2 separate regions of the Homo sapiens genome follow, and region 2 is linked to region 1. The links are contacts of gene promoters, found by promoter capture Hi-C in blood cells and fetal thymus (Javierre and others, 2016). All regions are on one chromosome and are shown on one strand. Each heading gives the region's core, a stretch centred on a gene start or on the middle of the fragment in contact. The rest is flanking DNA. Distances are from core to core; before and after follow the strand shown.

The links. Contacts are between HindIII fragments. The CHiCAGO score rates a contact against its expected background, and 5 or more counts as called.
Region 2: a contact is called between a fragment that was not itself captured here and the fragment with the promoter of POMK in region 1, in 1 of 17 cell types (M2 macrophages). The highest score is 5.2, in M2 macrophages.

What each region holds. Positions count from the first base shown.
Region 1 is chr8:43,092,141-43,094,840 of GRCh38, forward strand. It overlaps POMK (protein O-mannose kinase), which reads left to right and starts at 1,375. Exons shown (of 5, transcript NM_032237.5): 1 at 1,375-1,423. RefSeq lists enhancers at 339-1,245, 1,246-2,151 and a silencer at 1,403-1,612. The HindIII fragment of the contact is 4,326 bases long and covers 1-2,700 here.
Region 2 is chr8:43,195,520-43,198,219 of GRCh38, forward strand. HGSNAT (heparan-alpha-glucosaminide N-acetyltransferase) reads left to right here. Exons shown (of 18, transcript NM_152419.3): 15 at 1,429-1,506; 16 at 2,153-2,223; 17 at 2,321-2,433. Among named protein-coding and RNA genes, the nearest start is that of HGSNAT, 56 kb to the left of the region's middle. The HindIII fragment of the contact is 1,164 bases long and covers 766-1,929 here.

The DNA of each region.
Region 1 (2,700 bases), core at 125-2,624:
CCATCTTCTCACACTGAAACTGTGCACCCGTTAGTATTTTTCATGGCTATGTGGATGTAATATAATTTCTTTCAGAAACCCCTATTGTTATACATTCAGGTTTCTTTTTTTCTCTATTATAAATATCTTTTATCAGCAATGCTTCAGCAAGATCTCTTGTGCATACATCTTGCAGACATATTATTTCTTTTTCTTTTTTTTTTTTTTTTTTTTTGAGACGGAGTCTCGCTCTGTCACCCAGGCTGGAGTACAGTGGCGCGATCTCGGCTCACTGCAAGCTCCGCCTCCCGGGTTCACGCCATTCTCACGCCCGCCACCATGCCCGGCTAATTTTTTGTATTTTTAGTAGAGACGGGGTTTCACCGTGTTATCCAGGATGGTCTCGGTCTCCTGACCTCGTGATCCGCCCACCTCGGCCTCCCAAAGTCCTGGGATTACAGGCATGAGCCACGGCGCCCGGCCACAGACGTTATTTCTGAAGGATAAATTCCTAGAAATGGATTTGCTAGGGCACGTAGGAGGAATTCCAATTTACACTCACTTGTATGTGTGAGGAAACTTTCAGACTCTACTGTAACGACAGGAGGTATTACCGCTGTTTGTCCATGTGATAGGCAAACGTTTCTGTTAATTTTAATACTGTTTGGATAGCTAGTACCGGCTCAGTTTTTTTAACCCACACCATGTTACTGTCTTGATTCTGGACTTTCGCAGTGTGTCAGTGTAGAAGCAGCTAACGCTTCCGATGTACACAACCTAGACGTTCCATGACCCAGCTGACTTCGATGCTGCAAGCCTCCCTTTCGGTTTCCCGGAGCAAGCGCCCGAGTGCGTGTTGGGCTCCCGGCAGGGCTCCTGGCCGGCCCTCGACGGACTTCCCCGCCTTTGCCCAGTCCTGCCCCTCCGCGGAGGCTTGCCAAGGTCTTGTCTGCTGCGCTTGATGTGTGCAGCTCAGCTTTACTGCGTCTAGGCTAAGCCCCACAGTTTCTTTTACAGAGCGATTGTCCAACTTCAGGCATCTGGGTCCCCGAGTGGCGGGTCTGGGCCGGAGCTGGGAATCAGCCTTTCCAGCAAGGTCCCTGCAGATGCCGCGGGTCTGAGGACTACGCTTTGGAAGGCCTCGCAGTGCGTCTAGATCTGACAGCTGCTCTGCATGAGCCTGGCTCCAGGCTGAAGCAATAGTCGGTCAACACAAAATCGTTCTCCCAAGTTAGGGAAGCAGAAGCCAGACAGGGAGACTGGGTAGGTGCGCGCTGGTACCGCCGCGGCGTTCGCTCCGGCTTCAGTGCACGGCCGGAGGAGGACGCCAGGGGGCAGCAGCGCCACGCTCACCCGCCCAGGACGCGCTTCCGAACGCGCAAGCGCAGTAGGCCCAGTGCGTGCTGGCCCGGGGTGGCAGGAGCCGCAGAGGCTTGGGCTGCAGGTAGGTGCTGCGGCGAGGGGTGAGAGGGCGAAGGGGCGAGGGGGCGTGCAGCTGGGTTTCCCGGGGGACCCTGTACGTGGCCTGGGCCGCACCCCCCGCAGCCCCGGCCGCCTGCCCGCGGCCTGTCCGGAGGCTCCCTAGGAGGCTGCGCTGGGCCTGAGCGGCCGTGTCCACCGCGCCCAGCCCCTATCTCCGCGTCCACCCCTGCGCGGTAGCGGGACGTTAAAGAACCAGAGAAGGGCCCGGCGAGGTGGCTCCAGCCTGTAATCCCAGCGCTTTGGGAGGCCGAGGCGGGAGGATCGCGTGAGCTCAGGCGAGAGCAGCCTGGGCAACATGGCGGAACTTCTGTCTCCGTAAAAAAGCACTTAGCCGGGCGCGGTGGCGCCGCCTATAGTCTTATCTACTCCGGAGGCTGAGGCGGGAGAATGCTTGAACCCGGCGGGGGCGGAGGTTTCAGTGAGCCGAAATCGCGCCACTGCACTTCAGCCTGGGGGCCAGAGTGAGAGGCTGTTTCTATTATTATTACTTTATCATTATTATTATTATTTGAGACGGAGTCTCGCTCTGTCGCCCAGGCTGGAGTGTAGTGGCGCGGTCTTGGCTCCTGGGATTACAGGCGTCCGCCACCACGCCCGGCTAATTTTTGTATTTTTAGTAGAAACGGGGTTTCCCCATGTTGGTCAGGCTGGTCTCGAACGCCTGACCTCAGGTGATCCGCCCGCCTCTGCCTCCCAAAGTGCTGGGATTACAGGCGTGAGCTACTGGGTCCGGCAGAGGCTGTCTCTGTTTAAAAAAACAAAAACCAAACCAAACCAAAACAAAACAAAAAACAAAAAAACCAGAAAGGACCGAGGACTCTGTCTCAGCTCTTTGCCTTTGGGTGTTTATTCTGCACGAGATCATTGTTGCCAGGAGGTGTTAAGTGTAATCATATTCTCTTTTTTTTAGAAAGCAAAATTTCGCTGTTTTGTTGCATAATCTTGTCTTTGCCACCCTTTGCCTTTGCTATAGAACCTTAAGGCTAAATAAGCGTTCAGAATATTTAAAATAATCCTCTTAATGTACCTTGTGCTTTATTGGCGCAATGGAATTCTACTCTAAACTGTATTGGATGACATTACTCTGTGTCTTCCCTAGTTGTAGAAAATATCTTGTAAGTCGGTAAAAACTAGTTTTGTCCCTTTGCTTTTCTTTTCTTTTTAAGCTGTAAATGTGGAGCAGTGGGTCCCAAGCCTTTCTCTATCAATAAGCCTTCCTATCAGTGTCAGAAATGCTTT
Region 2 (2,700 bases), core at 98-2,597, 100 kb after region 1:
AAGAGGAGGAAGAGGAGGAGGGAGTAGAGGAGGAGGAGGATGAGGAGGAAGAGGGGGTGGAGGAAGAGGAGGAGGAGGAAGAAGAGAAGGAGGGTGTGGAGGAGGATGGGGTGGAGGAAGAGGAGGAGGAGGGGCTGGAGGAGGAGGAGGGTGAGGGTGTGGATGAGGAGGAGGAGGGTGTGGAGGAGGAGGAGGAAGAGGAGGAGGGGGTAGAGGAAGAGGAGGAAGAGGAGGAGGAGGGGTAGAGGAAGAAGAGGAGGAGGAGGGTGTGGAAGAGGAGTAGGGGTCGGTCTTGCTGTCTCAGGGGTAACAGAGGCAGAAGAGAATCCGCATATAAGTGGACCTGCGCAGTTCAAACCTGTGTTGTTCAAGGATCAGCTGTACATTTTGGTGATGAAATAATTTTGTATTTAGAAATACGGCCTTTATCTCTGTAGCACTTTCTAGTTGATATTGTGCTTTTCCATATATTCCGTATATTCATGTAATCCCTACATACACTTTCTAGGTAGATCACTGGAGCGGTCAGTCCAGTGGGGAGGCTAGGAGTGCAGACCTGGAGCCACGCTCCCTGGGTTTGTGTCCAGCTCTGCCACTTCCCAGCTGGGTGACCTCGGGCGTGTGGCTGACTCCCTCTTGTGCTTCAACAGCACCTACTTCAGAAGGGTGTTGCAAGGATTGAATAAGTTAATTCATGTAAAGTTCTAAGAACTGGCACATAAAAAATGTTGATTAATATTAGCTATTACTATAAATTATTTTTAAAGCTTCTCATCCTTTGATGTTTTCAAAAATGAATACCTAATTTCAGAGGGATTGTATGTGAAGTCCATATTTCACTGTTTTTAAATGTTTCCCTGCCTCCCCCACCCTGCCTCTGGTTCCACCCTGTCCCGGTCCCTCTTCCTAGTGCTGCCCAGACTGGGTCACCAAACAGGCCTGTCTGACGGAACCCTTGTCACCTTTGTGGAGAATTCTCTTTGGGCCCTGCCTGGAAGTAAGAGCCACGGAGCCTGCCCAGGTGCCCCTTCTCCTCCTTTCCCCATGACCTGGGCTTCTGCATTCCCTGCAGCAGTGGAGATGTGGTGTGGCTACCATGCTTCCCCCGAGCTCTGTGCCTGCTGCCCCATTCTGCTCAGGAGCCTCTTCCTGCGGGGACCCTCTGGTGCTCTGGCCTCACCTCTGTGGCTCGTCCTCTCTGATGCCTCCTCCTCCCCAGAGAGGGCGTTCATCTCTGGTCCCATGCTCCTCTGTTAGTCTCCACTAGTCAAAGGCAGAGGTGATGTTTCCCGCCTCCCTGTAATCCCAGCACCTAGTAGCGTGCCCAGCAAGTGAATCTCTTTGTCAGGTAGTTAAGACAGTGGATTAATATGAAATAAAAATATCCCTTTGGCGATTCTTTTGGTCACACTGTGTTATCTCCTCCAGGCAGGAAAAATACTATTGTATTACAAGGCTCGGACCAAAGACATCCTGATTCGATTCACTGCTTGGTGTTGTATTCTTGTAAGTAAGCAGCATTCCTCGCTAAAATTCCTTTCCTTCACATGTATAGATATTTAAAAGGAATAAAATGTTTAGCAACACTGAGCTAGCCATTGTCACCACATGGCAGCAGGTACCATTTTCTTCACTTGAATAACAGAGAGGAACAAATCTTTCCACCTAAATGCACAGATTTATTTTCTTAGGAAAATGTCTTTATCAATAAGGCAGTGTTTGCCATCAGATAGCCAGGAATGCCTGAAGAAATGTGAGGTATGGGCTCTGTGTGGAGAGGCGTATCAGAGAGACTGGGCAAATCAGACCAGGTTGCAGACATCAACTTCCAGATTATATGGGAAAGAGAGTTGCAAGGTTGACTGTTTGTTCATTTCATCCTGACCGCAGCCATGCCTCCTCTTCAGAGTCACTGTCATTTAATCAGTAAGCTTACCCTCTTCAACTCAGTAGAATGGTGAAGAGATTTTGGGAGAGTATTTTTCAGTTCATACATTTAAAAAAATATGTTTCCATTTAAAAGAGAAAAATATAAGGCACAAGTTTCAGCCCTCTCTACGTGATTAAATAACTAATATATATTGGTGTTGAAACCAAGTGTTTTCTGAGATAATAATATAAAATGTTAACATCCTTCTCTTCCCCATTACAGGGGCTCATTTCTGTTGCTCTGACGAAGGTTTCTGAAAATGAAGGCTTTATTCCAGTAAACAAAAATCTCTGGTATGTATGGAAAAAGCATGATTTTATGGATGACTGTTCATGCTGAAATTGGATTTGTTCCGTACGAGCACTGAAACGTCTCCTCCACCCCTCCCAGGTCCCTTTCGTATGTCACTACGCTCAGTTCTTTTGCCTTCTTCATCCTGCTGGTCCTGTACCCAGTTGTGGATGTGAAGGGGCTGTGGACAGGAACCCCATTCTTTTATCCAGGTAAGTCACCTCCAACCTCAAACAGAGCTGGGATGGTGACCAGGAGGCAGGCCCAGGGACCTCTGGAGCATCCTTGGTGCTGGGGTCTTGAGCCACTGCCCTAGCGGCAGGTGTCCAAAAGCCAGGCTGAGGGAGGAAGCAGCAGGGCCCACATTGTCCCAGCCCACACCAGATGTCACTGGCCTGCTCCAGAGCAGTCCACCCCATTTTCACCGTGTAGGTTGTGGAGTCGTTGTATGACAGTTTGTGACTCCACCTGTTTCTTCA